2 separate regions of the Homo sapiens genome follow, and region 1 is linked to region 2. The links are contacts of gene promoters, found by promoter capture Hi-C in human tissues and cell types (Jung and others, 2019). All regions are on one chromosome and are shown on one strand. The core of a region is centred on a gene start or on the middle of the fragment in contact, and the rest is flanking DNA. Distances in the headings are between cores, read along the strand shown.

The links. Contacts are between HindIII fragments. The study calls those that stand out against the background at their distance.
Region 1: a fragment that was not itself captured here is called in contact with the fragment with the promoter of ST6GAL2 in region 2 in 1 of the 25 tissues and cell types used here (dorsolateral prefrontal cortex).

The regions. Positions count from the first base shown.
Region 1 is chr2:107,422,602-107,427,218 of GRCh38, forward strand. All of the region lies in intron 2 of LINC01885 (long intergenic non-protein coding RNA 1885), which reads right to left. Among named protein-coding and RNA genes, the nearest start is that of LINC01789, 59 kb to the left of the region's middle. The HindIII fragment of the contact is 5,422 bases long and covers 361-4,617 here.
Region 2 is chr2:106,884,856-106,889,427 of GRCh38, forward strand. ST6GAL2 (ST6 beta-galactoside alpha-2,6-sialyltransferase 2) reads right to left here and starts at 1,312. Exons shown (of 6, transcript NM_001142351.2): 1 at 1,238-1,312. LOC124907864 (a long non-coding RNA gene) reads left to right here and starts at 1,678. Exons shown (of 2, transcript XR_007087169.1): 1 at 1,678-2,252. The HindIII fragment of the contact is 7,907 bases long and covers 1-4,572 here.

The sequences.
Region 1 (4,617 bases), core at 1,822-4,321, 540 kb after region 2:
ATTAAAAAATGCTATGAGCTAAATGGAAGGTGAGGTCAGCTGAGCTTCCCACTTAAAAATTGCAGTCACATCTACTGAGACACTTTCCTAATTCTAAAAGCATCTTAGGTAATAAGAGTAATTTAGGCAAAGAGAATGAATTAGTGCTGAGGAGTGGAGAACAAAGAAATTATGAAACCACTCAAAAATATTTCAAGGATTTAGTTCAGAAGCAAAGCTGGAAATTTAGAACCTTATTATCCTGGTTTCAAAAACGATTTCAAAACACTAATTAAAGGCCTAGCTCTCCTTGGAGGCAGATTGTTTTATTCAAAGGCCGGTTAGGAAGCAGAATTAGAAGTAAAAAGAAATATTCTCTAGGCCACTTCATTGGCCCTTTTTCTTCCTCTCACTTAAAAACTTTAAGATGGGAGAACATCAAAGTTGGGAATAAGTTGTATGACTCAGTGTTAGAAAAAGAGTTCCTGGGGACTGTCGATTGCATCTAGATCAAGCTGCTTAGACAATCTCGTCAGCCCATAGCAGGTGGTGAGCAGTAAAATGCTGGAGAACATTGCCATAGTAGTCAAACTCCATGAAGACCATTTTGGAGTACTTTGAAACTTTTATCTATTGAGTCTGATATAAGAGTAAATGAAACATTACAGTCCAGTGTTGGGACAACCAGCTGCAGCTCTTAGACCCTCCAATTAGAGTTAGGTTCCTGGTTTCCCATCTGACCTAAGGGGCCCCCCATCACTGCTCCCTGAACTCACGTGTCTGTGCCTTCACAGGGGGCTCTTTTATAGTACTGCAAGTAATTTTCCACCATGAACCATTCAGTCTCCAAATAATACATTGGCTGTATAATATTTGTTGCTGTCTGCCCATCTTAAGTGATTTGGATTTCATATGCATATAATTTCTAATTCAAATTGCATCTATATGTGGCCATAAAATTCACATCAGTTCAGGTGGAAAGTTGATCAGAAGCTTGTTCAGTATCACTGGCTGAGTTGTGAGCACCATCTTTCTGATGACTTTCTTATTGTAAAATCTGGGAAATGCCTTCTTTGCTGGAAGATACTATATTTTTTCTTAGTTTCTGCAGCACCCAATGCCAAACAAATCCCTCTGCAATGACTGGTAAACTGGGCAATACTGGAGCCAGGATTGACACATTTAGAAGGAGTGCCTGGGCTCAGTAGTGTAACTACAATGTTTTATGGGGTTTTAGAGGCTTCTGATTGTATACCATAATTTGAATTACCTCCCAAAAAGTAAGAGGCCATTTTCTGAAATAATGCCTTGATTGATTGATTTATGTTACATTTTCAGAATACAAATCATCCCTCAGCTATAGATTTTAGCCATGCCCATGGTTGTCGAACTTTTTAAAAAGTTCATCTTTTGAACACAGAGACTGAGTTGAAACTGACTTTTCAAATATGTTTTTGTAGGGTTCATTCTTGAAAACGATAAAAAAGAGTACTGGAAAGTAAGAAAGGAAACACCTAGCAATCTCTTCATAGGGAATAACTTTTTTCCTGTTATTTTCATACCTGCATATCCTATGTAAAAGTTAAAAATAGGCTTTTATCAACAAGTTTGTATTCTGGAACATGTCTAAAAATACAAATGCATCAATGTGAGAAGTTTAGATTTACACTCTTAAGGAAAGGAATACATCTATTCACTCAGAGCCTTTCAAATCTGCAGCTCTGATCACAGTTTGTCTTTGTCACTTGGAGAGCAAATATGTTACCTTTGTGGGAACTGACATTTGTACTGATTGGCTTGTAGGTAGTAGTATAAACAAAATGGATAATATAAGAATCTCTACCACTGCAAACTCAGATATAATTGAGGGAAGAGAGAAAATATTTCCAGTATGTGTAGAAGCCAAAATTGGAGCACAATTCCAACATAGACCTTCAGACCTACCAATTAACAAGAACAAGATATGAACCAATTACTCAGGAGTGGGCAAGATCTAATCTAAGAGCCTGAATGATGAATATTTCCTGGAACAGCTAACATCATTATTAAGATGTGTATTAGAGTTCTCCAGAGAGGTGGTTTGTGAGATTATGGAGGCCCAGAAGTTCCACAATCTACTATATGCAAGTTGAAGAACCAGGAAAAGTGGGGTTGTAATTCAGTCCAAGTCTGAAGACCTGAGAACCAGGGAAGCCAATCATGTGAGTCCTGGTGCAAATCTAAATGCTTAGGAACCATGAACACTAACATATAATGCTAGAAGAAGATAGGTGTCCCAGCTCAGAGAGAGAAAATTCACCTTCCTTCTGCCTTTTTTGTTCTATTTGGACCCTTGATGAATTGAAGGAAGCCCATTTCCCTTGATGAGGGAAATCTTTACTCAGTCTACTTATTCAAATGAAACCCTCACAGACACACCCAGAAATAGCTGTTTATCAGCTATGTGGGCATCCTTTAACCCAGTAAAGTTGACACATAAAATCTACCATCACAAGTCCACCCCTTGTAAACTTCGTACCCATATGCATTTTCTGAAACAACAATCAACCTCCAAATAGAGAAAATAACAGAATCATAATTCCACCTAACATAATAAACTATCCCATACAACCAAAAGTGTGCTAATTCTTTCCCAAGAAGAGGCGTGATGTTTACTCTTCTTCCAATATCCAATATTTAAATACTATGATGTAAAATTAACAATATTTAAATACTGATATAAAGTCAATGTATCTTATGTTACATGATGAAGGAAAAGAGAGGAAAGAAAATAATGACATTTTGCATAATATGTGTATGTATATGCAAATGTATTCATAACAAAATAAAGAGAAAATACTCATGACGATTACAGTCCTCATCTCTGTAACTGGACATATGGTCAAGGCTTATCTTTCTACTACCTTCTTTCACTACCCATTCTGTATTTGCTCTTTGCCTTCAGCAAGCACTTCTGCTGGCCAGAGTTCTTTACCTAGCAGGATTACCCAAACCTTCATTCTTGAAGGATCTGGGACATTCATAGTCCTATTTGGATTGAGTTATTGTAGTTTTTTATTTGCCTTAGTCACAGGCTATGATAATACTAAAATGTTTTCTGAGGGATCTTCAGTATTCCAGGCATGTCTTCCTCATCTCTATTGTGGAGTAGTAGTTCAATTTCTCCTTAGTATTCTGGATCAATCACCTCAGTTCAAGCCACAACTCCCTTCTTGGCCTGTTGACTCAGAGTCATGAGGAGCCCAAAATGACCAGACAGCAGTCTTTACTTCTAGTTCAATAAAATCATTACAGTGTCTCCTGGTGGAATCATTCCTCTCTTTTCAATTTAAACCTCTAGGCCAGCAGAGCATAAAGTTAGTATCTTAGTCTGTTCTGTTCTGCTGTAACCGAATACCAAAGACTGGGTTACTTATAAGGAACAAAAATGTATTTCTTATAGTTCTAGGAGCTGGAAAGTCCATGGTCGAAGGACATCTGGCAGAACCTTCTTGTTTCATCATACCATGGTGAAAGGAGGAAGGTCAAGAGAGCACATGTGCCTGCATGCATAGAAAATAGAGTGCGGAGGTAGAGGACCAAACACATCTGTTCGTCAGGAACTCACTCTCCAGATAACTAATCCATTTATCAAATAATGACATTACTCCATTCATTAAGGCAGAGCCCAGATGACCTCATCACCTCTTAAAGGTTGTACCTCTCAACACTATTGCATTTGGGATTAAGTTCCTAATACATGAACTTTGTGTAACACATTCAAACTATAGCAACCAGGGAACAGGAAACAAACTTGTCTAATAGTTCAGTAGGGGTAATTGTGAATGGTGCCACTCCTATTTCAACCCTTTGATTCCTGGACCCATGATCCTTGCAATGGCAGAAACAGTTACATATGTACTGGATGCTGATTTAGAACATAGCCTTCTGGAGAAGCTTGCCCACCCTGGTAAGGCAGTGCCACCCAGCTGGCACTGCCAATGAGTGTTCAGAAGTCCATTCAACCATTCTATAAAGCTAGCTGCTGCAAGATGGTGGGGAACATGGTAAGTCTAGTGAATTCCATGATCGTGGGCCTGTTGTACTTCTTTGGCTGTGAAGTAAGTTCCTTGTCAGAAGAAATACTGTGTGAAACACCATAATGGTGAATAAGGCATTTTATAAGTTCATGGATGGTAGCTGATATGGTTTGGCACTGTCCTCATTCAAATCTCATCTTGAATTGTAGCTCCCATAATTCCCACATGTCATGGGAGGGACCTGGTGGGAGGTAATTGAGTCATGGGGGTGGGTCTTTCCCGTGCTAGTCTCATGATAGTGAATAAGTCTCACAAGATCTGATGGCTTTATAAAGGGGAGTTCCCCTACACAAGCTCTCTTGCCTGCTGCCATGTAAGATTTCCCTTTGCTCTTCCTTCATTTTCCACCCTGATTTTGAGGCCTCCCCAGCCATGTGGAACTGTGAGTCCATTAAACCCCTTTCCTTTATAAATTACCCAGTCTCAGGTATGTCTTTATTAGCAGCATGAAAACAGACCAATACAGTAGCTTTGACAGAAGCATTGAATGCAGGAAAGGCAAATCCATGTCTAGGGTTAGTGTCTTTCCAATAAGTCAAAACACTTCTCTTTCCTTGAT
Region 2 (4,572 bases), core at 62-2,561:
CACACATCAGTTTTCCTTTTAAAAAAAGTTTTAACCCTAAATTTGCAGCGCATATATATATATATATATATATATATATACATACACACACACACATATATACATATGTGTATGTATATACATATACATCATATATATATAGCACTTCACTTTATTGGAATTCTTCCTTGGTCATAAATTATATTTCAAGTTGGCAAAAAATGTTGATCAGAATTTCAAAAAAGGGAAGCATCAAAGTAACCAGCATGGGGTTTTTCAAGTGTGCAGAAAGTTCTCTAAATACAAAATGTGCTTCCAGCCCACCAAAGACCCCCCTCACCCAAGCAGGCAGTCCTCGGCGAGGAGGGTCAGCATGCCCCTTTATGGTCAGAACGGCAGTGGTGCAAAAGACAATGATTTCAACCAAATATGGTTTGCCTCTCGCCAAATTTTTCGCATGTCCAATAAAAATAAGTTCACAAAAATCCAGCCAAGCATTACTTTCCCCCCAAAAGTGCTTCTCAGATTACAAAACAGCTTTGAAAGTTCAGCCTGACAAAACAAATATGGTACTAGGAGGAGAGACCTGGAAGGCAATCACAAAAAGTCTCATTTAAATTCCTGGAAAGCACAGCTTCTCCAAACACAGCTATTCAGCTCTTTGGAAGGCAGCACTTGCGGGAGCCATTGAGTTTAACTTCACTCAGTCCCCCAACACAGAACCGGCAAATCCGAATGAGATGGACGTCACACTCCCTACTCAAAAGAATGCATCAAATATCCACTCCGTAACACCGCGGAAAGTAAACCCAAAAGCGGAGTTTGCCGCCTGCCAACTACATAAGAATTAACACTCGGGTATTTAGGATTCTAAAGATCCCTACTACCCCAAACATTATAGCCACAGAGAACCAGAAATGAACAGAACACACTTTAACCTTTAAGAAGTGCAGTTTTGTACGGGGGTTGGCTGAAGAAAGACAAAAATCTTCACTCCCTTCCAGAGCCAAAAGAGCCAAAATAAAAGATCACCTTTACTGAGCCACAGGGGCACAACTGTATCCGCCCGTCCCCAAAGCGCAAGCCGTCCTCCCGTTCGCTTCTCCAGAATTTCCTGCTTTTCCCCAAACCACCTTCAACATTCCCCACACACGGGTCTCGCTCCTAAACACGGAGTGTAACTCCGCGCACAGCAGCGCGGAGGCTGCAGCGCCACCAAGAAAGGCGTCGCCAACCCTTACCCAGTGCCCTCCCTTACCAGCCTTCTTCCCACGCCGCGCCTCGAAGCGCACGACACCGTGGTGCTCGGTGCTCCCCCTGGCAGCGCGGCACTGGAGTCCAAGGCGTGCGTGTCACATTTTATTCCCCGGCAGCCGCTCGGGTGCGCGCGCTACGCGCTCCCACACTCACGCTGGCGCCCGCTAGAGCTGGGACCCTGGCCGGGGTCCCCGACTCACGCCGCGGAACTTGGGGGCTGCAGAAGGCGAGTGCGCGGCGGGAGTCGTCCTGCCGCAGGCTCGAGTCCTCCTCCTGCCACCGTGGGGTCTCGGAGCTGCCCCGCGCTCCCGTCCCAGGCGGCCTGCGGGATCACCTCTCCGGGGCCAGCGCTGCTCCGCGCCGGCGGCAGCTGCAAGCGCGGGCGGCGGGGCACAGCGGGTGGCTCGGCCTCAAAGCCGGCGGGAGGCTACGCTCAGCCCCGCGCTGCACGCCTCATTGTTTCGGGCAGCGCGGCGGCGGCTCCCGCGGCCAGAGGAACCGCGGCCCCGAGCCCCGGGGAGAGGCGGCGGTTCCCGGCCCACGCACCGAGGCTGCGCCGCGCCCCGCCCCCGAGCTCCGCTCGCCCCAGAGCCCCCTCCCTCTCCGCGATCCCTTTCATCCTTCCCGCTCCAGGCTCACCTAGCTGGCGGGAGCCGGGCACTGGGAAGTTGGGCTGCCCCCTCCCCGCGCCCCCGGCCCGGCAGCTCGGCCCGCCGGCGAGCGCAGGCGGGGCGCTCCCTGGCTGCGCGCGGATTTCTGCTTGTCGCGGAGAGTGACTGCAGACTTGGGCTGCGTGGGGCGGTGCGGGGCAGCACGGCTGCCTAAAAAGGCGTGTTTCTCCCCGGCCGCCGCCTCCATCCAGCCCTAGTTCTTCCGAAGGTTACCTGCACAGTACCCGCCTGGCACCGCGCCTGGACACCTCCGGGGCACTCGGGTCCCGGGCGGCGGCAGGAATGCAGGAATGCGCACAGGCTGTGGGCGGCCAGGAGGGAGTCCCGGCGCCTGCCCCGGCGGAAGTGAGTCTTTGTGTACCCTGTCCAACACCTCCCCCCGCCAGCGCGGAAGGCCGGGCTACCTGCGCGCCTGGCAGCGCCTGGCAGCCGGCTGGGTGGGGCGCAGGGGAGCGCAGCATCCTCCCCGGCTCGCTAGCTCCCTTTGTTCATCTCGCTCAACCAGGCTCCGCACTGCCGCCTGGCCCTCGCTCCCAGAGCTTCTCTAAGGATATGGGATGGACTTGGGAGCGGGCCACCTTTCATTTGGGAAGGGTAGCTCGCCAAGTCCGGTGACGGTGCTCCCTGGAGACCCCCACCTGCCCGCCCCTCCACACTGCCGGTCCCCAACCCCAAGAGGGACGGAAAGTTCTTGGGGTAGAAGCCGGCGGGACAAGTGGTTGAAGCAGCCTCCGGAGCCAGTGGGCGGCTGCGAGCTGGGCAGCTGGAGCCTGCGGGCGGGGCCGCGGGGAGGTGCCCATCGAGTGTCGGTCTGGTCGCGTGCGGAATGTCCACTTGTCACCGCGGCCCTTGCGTTTTCTCGAGACGGCGGCAGCTGGTCCTAGGACCCCAAACCGCGCCGCCCTTTGTTTGCTGGTAAATACTCTCCTGTGAACTTCAGCGTGTCTCTCCGCGCGCACTCCTGGCATTGGGTGCCCCACCCCGCTGGTTCTCTCGCGGACCCAAAGAGCTGTTCAGGTGTAGGGGAATCCCAGGTAGATGGATAATATTGCTAAGGTTGGGCCCATCTCAGGGGGACTGGTTAGTCACCCCTCACCCCACCCCACACCCTCAGTCGCTAGAAGGACACACGTTTTGGAGACAGAGATCTGCCATTAAATGTATTATTTAAAAATCCGCAAATACTTTTATTCAAGTAATTTAGACTTTTTTTTTAGGGGGGAAAAAGCAATTAACTGGCTACCCAATTCATTCAGCATTCATTAGTGCCTACCTTAGCCTGGAACTCTGAGCTAGACAGTGGGCGCCCAGAACTCCCTCAAAGAGTTTACAGAAATGTAAAACAGCACGGGAATTAAACTAAAATCGAGTGGGTATAATGCACTGTGTTCAAACAAAAGTGTGGGCCGAAAACGCTTACTCAGTATTTCCCCAATTGTATTAATTATGTCTGACACATGGAATTCTGCGGAACTGCCTGAATGAACAATGTGTTACACAGATATTTTTTAAAAAAAGAAAAATTATGGCCGGGCGCGGTGGCTCACGCCTGTAATCCCAGCACTTTGGGAGGCCGAGGCGGGTGGATCATGAGGTCAGGAGATCGAGACCATCCTGGCTAACAAGGTGAAACCCCGTCTCTACTAAAAATACAAAAAATTAGCCGGGCGCGGTGGCAGGCGCCTGTAGTCCCAGCTACTCGGGAGGCTGAGGCAGGAGAATGGCGTGAACCCGGGAAGCGGAGCTTGCAGTGAGCCGAGATTGCGCCACTGCAGTCCGCAGTCCGGCCTGGGCGACAGAGCGAGACTCCGTCTCAAAAAAAAAAAAAAAAAAAAAAAAAAAAAAAAGAAAAATTATATTTTATAAATGTGAAATACATACAGTGTGGTTAAAAGTGACCAAAACAAAACAGAAACAAACAACCTGATAGAGACCCATAGCTGGTGGGGATAGAGAAAGGAAATACTGCAGAAAGACTCACCTTCTTAATAGTAGAGGGGCGCAGAGGGGGTTGCAAAGTCTGTGGGCTTCTGTTTCTCTTCTGTATAATGGATGTAATAGTACCTACCTTCAGCCTGGCGCGGTGGCTCACACCTGTAATCCCAGTACTTTGGGAGGCCGAGGCGGGCGGATCACGAGGTCAGGAGTTCGAGACCAGCCTGGCCATAATGTTGAAACCTGTCTCTACTAAAAATACAAAAATGAACCGGGCGTGGTGGCAAGCGCCAGTAGTCCCAGCTACTCGAGAGGCTGAGGCAGGAGAATCGCTTGAACCTGGGAGGCGGAGGTTGCAGTGAGCCAAGCTGGTGCCACTGCACTCCAGCCTGGGTGACAGAGAGAGACTCCCTCTCAAAAAAAAAAAAAAAAAAAAAATTATATAGTATCTATCTTCAAGGTTTGTTGTAAGTAGAGAGCATGTGTTAAAAGCATCTCCCCCAGTGCCTGACATGTTATACCTAATAAATTGTAGTAATTAATAAATGACAGTGGCCATTATTAAAACACTTTACCTTGAAACAGAAAAAATTGTACACTTTTTATAGTGTATATATATCTTATACACTTACTATCCTTTCTGCGTAAATACTGCCAAAGTTGATATCTTAAAGAAATTTTAATGAGTTAAATAAAAGTGTCCAAATAACAGTCAACTTTATAGAAGTAG